Regions from separate parts of the Homo sapiens genome. Here region 1 is linked to region 2. The links are contacts of gene promoters, found by promoter capture Hi-C in blood cells and fetal thymus (Javierre and others, 2016). All regions are on one chromosome and are shown on one strand. The core of a region is centred on a gene start or on the middle of the fragment in contact, and the rest is flanking DNA. Distances in the headings are between cores, read along the strand shown. Region 1 has its middle 180 kb from the start of DAB1-AS1. Region 2 holds the start of C8A (complement C8 alpha chain).

Region 1 (4,794 bases), core at 1,987-4,486, 1.2 Mb after region 2:
AACTACACATACTGAGCGATAGTTCCATACTGGCAATATATGCATGGCGCATTGAAAACACAAAGGAAAAGGAGGGAGATGGGGGCAGGGTGAAATCCCCTTAGGAAGAAATAGATACTGCTTGGGACAGAAGTTGGGAAAGGATACTCTAGCGGGGACAGCATGTGCAAAGACTATTCGCATGGAAGCATAAAAGAGCATAGTCAGTACTTCAACACATCTGAAACTCAGAGTTCAAGGCAGGGAGTACTGAGAGACTTAGGAAGGAGCAAAGATATTAGAGGAGCTTAGATTTATCTTGAAGGCAAGGGGCACCACAGACAGATATTAAGTGAGGCGGAGGGGAGGCATTATAATAATCAGATTTGCATTTCAAAATGAGCCGTCCATTTACTACACTGTGGGGTGATGGATTGGAGCCAGGAGAAGCTAGAGGTAAAGATTCTAAGAGCAAAGGTGTTGCATGCTAATAGCTGAAATGTGGTGTGTAACATCAGTAGGAAAGTTTATCCATCAAATTCAGCACAAAGGAGTGTATAAAGGAAATACATGCAGATCAAATGTCCTGACAGTATATTCCAGAAGGAATGAATCACCAAAATGTTAATGTATAGGCGCTGTGCTGCTCTTTCCAAACTGTTAACACAAGGTAGTAAGAAGACAGATAAGAGACCAAAATTCTCTGTCCCTTTTGAGCCGATCTTGTTAGTGGCATTTGCTCCATCTATGTACTAATTTCTTTATCAACATGAAAGGTACATCACAGTGCCTACATAAATGGGTCAAGTAATATAATTTCATATTAGAAAATGAATGCCTTTAGGTACTATAAAAAACAATTTGGATAATATATTTCTTTCACTTCTAGTAGAATTTCAAGTTTAAAAAAAAGAGTTGGCAGAAACTTCAGAGACAGTCTAGCCCAAACCCTTCAATACATGGATCGATACCTTTACCTCTTCTATTTCCACTGCTTGTAGTGCTTTTTCAATCTGATCCATCTGACAAAACTCTCTTCACCCATGACCCATGATGTCCTCACAGTCACTCCTACTCTAAAGCCTTCCGTGAATCTCACAAAATTAATACTCACTTCCTCTTTGGAGCTCTGGGAGTAGTAGTTAATGTCTGGATTTTCTTTTCTCATCTATAAAATGAGATCACTATTGTGCCATGAAATGAATACTTGACAGAGTCAAACAGAGAGGATAATCACAACCCACATTTTTTTTTTTAAGACGGAGTCTTGCTCTGTCACCCAGGCTCAAGTGCAGTGGCACGATCTCGGCTTACTGCAACCTCCACCTCCCAGGTTCAAGCGATTCTTCTGCCTCAGCCTCCCGAGTAGCTGGGATTATAGGCACACACCACTACGTTTGGCCAATTTTTGTATTCTTAGTAGAGATGGGGTTTCACCATGTTGGCCAGGCTGGTCTTGAACTCTTGACCTCGTGATCCGCCTGCCTTGGCCTCTCAAAGTGCTGGGATTACAGATGTGAGCCACTGTGCTCACCACAACTTAACTACTTTATAGCATTGTAGATGTGTCAATTACCTGTATATTTAATCTCAGCTCCCTCTGTCCTTCTTTGAAAAATTTTCAGGAAACAACATTTCCTTAGCTTCCTTCTTTTTGAGTTTCTGATTATGTATTACTAATTTGAGGCTGTGGTAAGTTGGAGACCAGAAGGAGGGAAGAGGGACAGGGCATTTTTACCCTTGGCTTTCCTGGTTTGGGATTGCATCTCCAGAAATGGTAGCATTTCCTCCAGGGCTTCTCTGTGCTTCTAGCTTCTGAAGGTGACCCTGGTCTCTGGGATTTGGTGGTACCACCTTTTTTCCCTATTCCTCTAGCCTAGGGGTTACAGTGGCTTCCTCCTACTGCTGCTCTTTGACTTGTCTGAATATCATTTTTTCGCTTCTTAGCTCTTCCATCTTGTATGCGACCAACTCCTTTATTGAATCTTTCCTGTTTGAAATACCTAGACAGATTTATGTTTTCTGAGTGTCTCTTGTTATATTAGACAAAGAGAAAAGGAGAGGAGAAAGAACTAATATAATTATTGACAATGTACTGCATATCAGGCTTTTACTCTGGGTGTTGAATTCATAATTTCACTATAGCATAGTGGTTAAGGTTACAAAGGTTGTCAGAGAGACCAGACTTCAGATCCCAGTTCTGACACGTACTAACTCAGTCTTACCCTGTTTCAATATCTGTCGATTAGGGATAAGAGTAATATTTACATGCAGAGTTCAGAGGATTCAGAATCATATGTATAAAAGCACTTATCACAGAACCCAATACATAGGACTCAATGTTAGTTATTAATAACAAATATATAATAATAATCTGAACAAACCTATAAGGCTGGTATTATTAATATTCCTCATGACATGTGAGAAAACCACGATTCATAGAAATGAAGTAGTATGCCCAAGGTCACATAGCTAATAGAGGGATGCTAGGCTTAGAACTCTGACTAGAAAATCTGTTTTTTTCTACTATACAGAATGGGCTTACAGATGAAAACATACAATTGGAATCTATATAAATATTATAGTTTATGAATATAAAGCTTAAATTATCTGGCTCCCTAATTAATTGCATTGTTGTTAGGAGCAGAATTTGAGAGGATCCTGAATCCTGACAAACCCTATCCTGCAGGCCGGCCGACAGCACTGCAAGGACAGCAGGTTGGTCAGGGCTGGCAGCGGGAAGCACTTGCCACTGGGAGGCCACAACCCCACTCCGACGGGTCTGCTGGCAGGGGCTGTGGAGTGGGCCTCACCTACTCATTACTGCCATACCGAGGGGGTAAGGGCTAATGGACTGCTGGTCCAGGGGGACGGTCTGCAGCTTCACGCAGCTCTCTCCACAGCATCCAGGCCTGAACCTGTGACCCCAACTCCGCGAGCGGGGCTGTTACCCACTCTTGAGACTGCCGGCATTAAGATCCTCTCATTACTGGCCATGCAGATTGTTCCCGGCGATAATGAGGTGGCAAGAGAAGAAACCATCCTGGGGGAACTTCTGAGAGCCAAGCCTTCGACAGTAGATGAATTCCTAACCTGCCATTTTAAAAACTGTCTCTCCAAATTGCTAGGAATATTTTTTTTCCAGGGAAGCTTTGACCCTTCTCTTTATCTTTCTTTTTAGACTATGTGCTGAAAGAGGTAGAAATCCATACTCACTCACCCCTTTCTTCCCTTGCATCTTTGTTTTCATCTCCATCCTTCTCTTGCCTCCTTTCTCTCCCTTTTTGCCTCTTTTCCCTTTTTCCCCTTTGTTCCTTCTCTTTTTTTCCATTTATTCTCCTATCCTTTCACACAGCATAGAGATGCAAGCTTTGGAACAAAATACATTATGGGTCCAAATTGCAGCTCTGCTCCCTGGTAATTAGGGATTTGGGCAAGATTATCAATTTTTTTTTTTTTTTTTTGGAGCCTCTGTTATTTATCTGAAAATGGAGACTAAAATTTTCAGGGTTTTAAGGTTATTAAATGACCTTATTTATAGAAAGAGGCCTGTTAAGGTATATGGGCACATAACTGGCATAGAATAAATGCAGGTACCTTCCTGTATTCAGCAAGGCTTTATTGAGTTAAGTCCATGATATATGTAAAGTCCTGTGGTAGATACCAGAGACAGAATAAGTTTTGGTTTCTTCTGTTAAGTAAGTTTTCCATTTTGATACTGAAGAAAAGCCTGGGAATTCTGGATTTTCTTAAACTAAATAAAGATAAATATTTTTCCTAGTGTATATCAAATATCCAATTGGCTATAACTAACTTCTTTTCTCAAAGCTAAGCAAACTGAGGCAAAGGACATCACGGCAATTGAAATGTTTATATCGTCCAAATCATTTACTTGGGTGACATCTTGTCCCTCCCATAGAACACATTTACATAAAGAAGAACTTCTTTTTTTGTTGTTGATTTTATTTTCTGTTGATTTTTTTTTCGAAGGTAGGATTATGAACTACTTTAAGGCCCTCTGAAACTAGGAAGGATGTGAGTAAAGTACAATGTCATATCATTATTTTTATTTGCATTTTTTAAATTACTAATGAGGTTGAACACATTTCCACATTAGTTTCAAGGTACTTAGCTAGAACTTGTTTTACAATTTTAATTGGTTACTGTCCATCTGGTATCTTCTCTACTATGCCATGAGCTTCCAGAGAACAGAGCCTGAGCAGCACTTGTCTTGGTATCCTTTGTGTGGTGCAGTAAACAAAGCATCTCACACAGACTGGATGCTGTAGAACAGAGCTCCTGCCATGTGCCAGCCACTGGTGCTGGGGATAGAGGGATGGGAGCTCTCAGAGGTACACTCTTTAAGTCCAGGGATACCTACAATTTCTGGGCCACTCACTGAGTGGAGAAGAACTGATTTTGTTTGAAACTGAAGTTCAAAGCCCAGCCGTGCCACTTACTGGTTGTGTGACCTTGGGCAAAGTTGCTTCATCTCTTTGAGCCTCAGTTTCTTTAGCTGTAAAATAAGGACAAGCTCCAAGATCCCTCCAAATTCTTACCATGACATGATATTTGTATAATATATACATAGCCTGAAAATGAGATTCAAACTTTAGTTATTTTGGAAATTCTGTTTTATTATGCCATGGATTGTGTCAAGCAGTTTCACCCAAAAGAAATATAGCATGGGCTATGAATGCAAGCCACATATGTCACCTTAAATTTGCCACTTAGCCACATTTAAGTAAAATAAAAAAACAGGTGAAATGAATTTTAATAATATATTTTCTTTAATCCAATATATCTAAACTGTTA
Region 2 (5,002 bases), core at 1,288-3,787:
TTTTATTGTTAAGTGATATGGATGATTATAAATAAGAATCAGACACAGAACTTACACTAAAGACATGTTCATTCTCCAGTTACGCCCTGCTCCCCTAGAAGAATATGAAACAAAAATTATAAGTGCTGCTAGCACATTTATGAGGTTGAGCTTCCAAGCAGACACCTTTTAGATGGAGCCACCAGCAAAAGATCCATGATGGATCTGACATTTGAGAAGATGCTTGGCAAAAAGGGAGGAGATGACGGATGAAGATAGTTCAGATGGAAGGCCCAGTGTGAGCAAAGCCACAGCAGCAGCAAAGCATGAGGAAGGTGAAGGGAACCTAGACTATGCTGTGGGGGATCATTGCAGAGTTGTGGTTGATAAGGCTGCAAAAATGGGCTGGGACTCATTTATGGAGGAATTTGGACTTTTACTCTTAGAGATAATGGGGGAGCCACTGCAGCTTTCTGAGTAGGACAGTGATGTTGTCAGAGATTGTTTCCTTGATGATGAATCCAGCAGTGCTAGAGAGGGAGGGTTGAAGTGAGAAGTGGAGGCCCACTAGGAGTGGGTAATGAGAGTTACAGAGAGATGAGGCCCTGATATGGATCAAAGACAGTGAGGATGAAGGAGAGAAGCTTGGCAGGAAAATATTACAGAGGAATATGGTGGGGTATAAGGGACCGTGCTGGGGGTGGGGTGGGAGAGGTGATAAAGGTTAAGGAAGAGTCCTAAAGCCATTGAGGGCTTGGGTAAGGAGAAAAGACATCAGAGACATTTAGAGAAGGAGCTGCTTTAAGAAGGAAGACCCGATTGCTTTTATTTCAGGGATCAGGGGAAGGCAGACCAGTTTTTCTGTGGGGCAGTGTTTCCCAGCCTAGGTACTCTTGATATTTTGGGCCAGACAATTTTTTGTCCTGGGCACTGTAGGATGTGTGGCAGCATCCCTGGCCTTTACGCACTAGGTGCCAGTAGCACAACTCCCCAAGTTGTGATAACATAAATATCTCTGAACATTGCCAAATATCCCCTGAGGGCAAAATCACCCCCAGTGGAGGACACTGTTGTAGCGGAGGTTGTCTCCTCATGAGAAAAGCTGTGGGAGGAGTGGGGGAACTTGAGCTACACTTCCCAGGGGGCTCTGTGGATCTGTTTCAGGAACTTTGACTACGGATGAGAAAGGATGGAAGTTGGTAGAAAGAGGTGGCCTCCAGATGTGCCATCCTGAACTGGCCCCAGGGTGTCCAGATAGAATACCCTCCATTGTCCTCCATATCTTCAGTGAAAGCAAAATGAAATGCTAGTCACGCTGGAATATTGTGGAGCAAACAGAAAGTGTGGTTTTCAAAGTAGGGTAGAACTGAGGCCAAGAGGACCAAGGAGTCAAAATGAAAAGAGGTAGGAGAAAGAGAGACACAGAAATCACAGGCTCCGGGGACTTCCCAGGACCCAGAATCCACATTTACTTCTGTCAAGTTTACCAAAATCTCTGAGAAAAGGGAGATGATAACAATTTGGTGCCTTTAAAAAAATCTCCGCATTTAAATCAGAAACACATTTTCTTAAGCATACAAGTCATTCATTAAAATTTCTCCTAACTTTGAGATCAGTAATGATACTACTGGACAGTCCTGCTAATGAGAGAATCTAAATATTCCCAAGGATATTGAGACAGCTATACAACCTTGGGCAAGTTAGTTACTTTCTCTGGGCCTCCATTTCTTCATCTTCATTAATTCCATCTAAATGGAATTAATAATTTCCATCTCATATCCCTGCTATGAAAATTAAATAAGACATATGAAATGCCTGCCACATAGTAGCCATTAAATTATTGTCTGTGTATCTATCCATCATCTATGTATTTACCTACCTATCTATCCATCCATCTCAATTTAATTTAATTTATGTCTTGAAGAGTAAGAGATTTTAGGCAGGTATGGCACCATTAGTCCTGATGTGTGGTTTTATTGACATTATAATTCTAGAGAGTGCTTCTGGAGATGTCTATTTAAGACATTTGGCCCCCTCAATAAACAGATACCCTGGATCTCAATGATGCCCAATGTCTGTATGAAAAGTGGAAAGTCCATTGAATTACACATATATTTCAGGATTTAGATGTTTGGCAACGTACAGTAGAACCTTCATGTAATGGTTAGCATTTCCTACATTTTTCTGAGTGCTTTATGTCTGAGTTGATATACCAATATTAGCCTTGTTTCAGTCTTGCAAAATAGATTGATCTGACCTCAGAAGTTCCAAGAGACACTGAAAAAGACCAGGAATTCTAGAACTGCATCTTGGTTTGGTTTTTGCCTCCTTTTGAAAATAAGACCTCTTTGCTAAGCTGGTATTAGTTAAATATCTTCCTTTCCTTAACCACACGGATATTGTTTTTCAAAAGGTCTAAAGGGCAGTGGCCTTTGGTGCCTGGAACACTTTTAGAGTATTTAGGTAATCAATACCCTGGTTACTATTTAACCATATTTGAAAGAGAATCAAGTGAGTTCTGTGCAAATCAATGTGTATCTGGGTGAGTTTCCAACATCAGATAGATCTTACAGGTCCCAGCCTGTAGACATCTTTTACTCCAATTTCCTGAATAGATAGCTTTATTCCTTCAAGGTAATATAGTGCGGTGGCTTCTGGCTGAGATGTTTGCTGTTGTTTTCTTCATCTTGTCTTTGATGACTTGTCAGCCTGGGGTAACTGCACAGGAGAAGGTGAACCAGTAAGTGGGCCATATGTCTCTGCAAAACTTGCACGTAGGAATCACCTGCTGGGGAACTAAGACACTTTTATGTTTGCAGCAGAGGCTGTGTTAGAATGGAAAATAACCTCTTTTCATGTTATTACTACTCCTGTGGAGGAGGATGGGACAGTGAAAAGACCGTGCACTTGGAGTCAAATTGGTCTATGTGTAAATCACAGCTCTAATGCTTAGAAGCTGAATAATTCAGGGTAAATCATCTCATCGGTTTGATCCTTAGTTTCCCTAGCTGTAAAATGAGAATAATAATACCTCTTCTATAAGAGTTAATGTAGATAAAATAAGATCCTGAATATAAAATGTACTCAGCTTATAGTAGACACTTAATAAATGACAGTTCTCCTGAGTGGTGCTGAACAGTTAACTTAACCCCTACTTTCTTATCTGTAAAAGAGCATCATAAGAGTGCTGTCTCATAGTTTTGGGGGAGGATAAAATTAGATAATGTGTTCAAAATCACTGTGGGGAAGGCAAAGGACTATAGAGATGCTGGGTCATTTGATTCTAAAAATGACTTTATCTTTTGCTATGGGATAATAGAGGGAGGTGATGTAGTTTCATATGTACATTGTGTTTTACCCATTCTATTTTCTTGAGATTTCCAAGCTTGCTTCATGGGTTTTTTTTTTTTGGTATCTTAATATTAAGTATTTTGTGGAGCCTAAGCAGTCCTTTATTTCACCTTCGGGATAGCTTTAAAGCAATCCCTGTCTCCCAAACATTAAAGATTTTAAATAGAATTATTTAATTCTAATTCTTGATAGATGATGCAATTTTGAATCATTAGTGCTTTTAAATGCTAGAGCAAGTGAGAATTCCTTTAAGTAACAGTTCAGAAGGGAGGAAAGCATTTTTAAAAGCAGTTAATTTGTAACTTGTATTTAAAGGAAATACAATTTTGAAATCAGAAAATTCATCTGTAATAATTAGAAGATAAAGGCAAGAGAACTGTGTAAAGGAAATCTCCGCCGAGATATTCTTAATTATAAAAGCTTATCATTGTAATCCTTTTTGAAAATGAACAAAGAGTCTTGATGTTTGATGAACTTATCAAACAAGACAGACCAGTGAAGGGGCAAATTTCAAGTCAAGGCAAAATGGAACCAATTAAATACTTTACAAAGTGCTGAAGGAGGAAATCATGAGGTCTTTGTATCTAATGCCAGTGTGTCTGACACTGACTTTGAAAGTGAAAAACTACATGGTGAAATGATTTTATTAGGTTCAAATTCTGGCACTGACATTCACTAGCTGTCTGATCTCAGGCAAGTTATTTAATTTTTCCAAGCTTCATTTTCCTTACCTGTACAATGGGAGGAAAGTAAGAACAAAAATTAAATGCATGAAAGTACTTAGATCAATACCTGTTACCTATTACCTAGTAATCATTCAGTGAAAGCTGTCACCAGTGCTGCTGTGTGATTGTTATTGTTATTTTTTGGTATTTCCATTCCCTTGATGGTTGACAATAATCAGACAAAACAAATTTATAATATGCCAATTGGCATGGATCTTTCTGATCAGTCAGAGATTTTAAACTTTATTTTTAAGTAATAGCACTCTTTTTCCCTGCAAAATAAAATTTCACATGAACCCTAACATTGAAAACATATTATATAGTTTTACATTTTAATGGTACACATTTATTTTATAAGTTCATGTTTAACATTTGCTTATTATAAAATCTTAAAAATTTGTTGAGAAAAACATTTTAAAACAATGGTGATGGAAGGAAGTTATAATCTTCAGCCTAAAAATCAGTGGATCTCTATTACATATTTTATACAAATTTATTTTATAAGTTCATGTTTAACAGTTGCTTATTATAAAATCTTAAAAATGTGTTATTTGAGAAAAACATTTTAAAACAATGGTGATGGAAGGAAGTTATAATCTTCAGCCTCAAAATCTGTGGGTCTCTATTACATATTTTATACAAATAACACCTTTCATTATGTGTGTTGCTTAGAAGTTTTTAATTTCAAGTTTCTAATTTGCTTAGAAGTTTTAATTGCAGTTCTTTTAATGTATTGGGATTTGTTTTTTACTAAGAGTGTGATCAACCTTAGTGAATATTCCATATGCTCAAAAAAGTGCATTATTCTGTTGTTCAGTGTAGTTCCAAGTCAATTAAGTCAAGTTGGTTGTTAATGTCACTCAAGTTTTCATCTTGTTCTATTGATTACTGAGAAAAGAATGTTGCAATCTCCAACTGTATTTGTGGATTTGCCTACTTACAGTTCT

Evidence for each region. The method cuts DNA at HindIII sites, captures the fragments that hold promoters and counts their contacts. A CHiCAGO score of 5 or more calls a contact.
Region 1: a fragment that was not itself captured here is called in contact with the fragment with the promoter of C8A in region 2 in 4 of 17 cell types (endothelial precursors, total CD4 T cells, total CD8 T cells and 1 more); the score reaches 8.3 in endothelial precursors.

Annotation. Positions count from the first base shown.
Region 1 is chr1:58,042,511-58,047,304 of GRCh38, forward strand. It overlaps a transcript of DAB1 not described here. Among named protein-coding and RNA genes, the nearest start is that of DAB1-AS1, 180 kb to the left of the region's middle. The HindIII fragment of the contact is 219 bases long and covers 3,128-3,346 here.
Region 2 is chr1:56,852,260-56,857,261 of GRCh38, forward strand. It overlaps C8A (complement C8 alpha chain), which reads left to right and starts at 2,538. Exons shown (of 11, transcript NM_000562.3): 1 at 2,538-2,719. The coding sequence starts at 2,643. The HindIII fragment of the contact is 2,741 bases long and covers 622-3,362 here.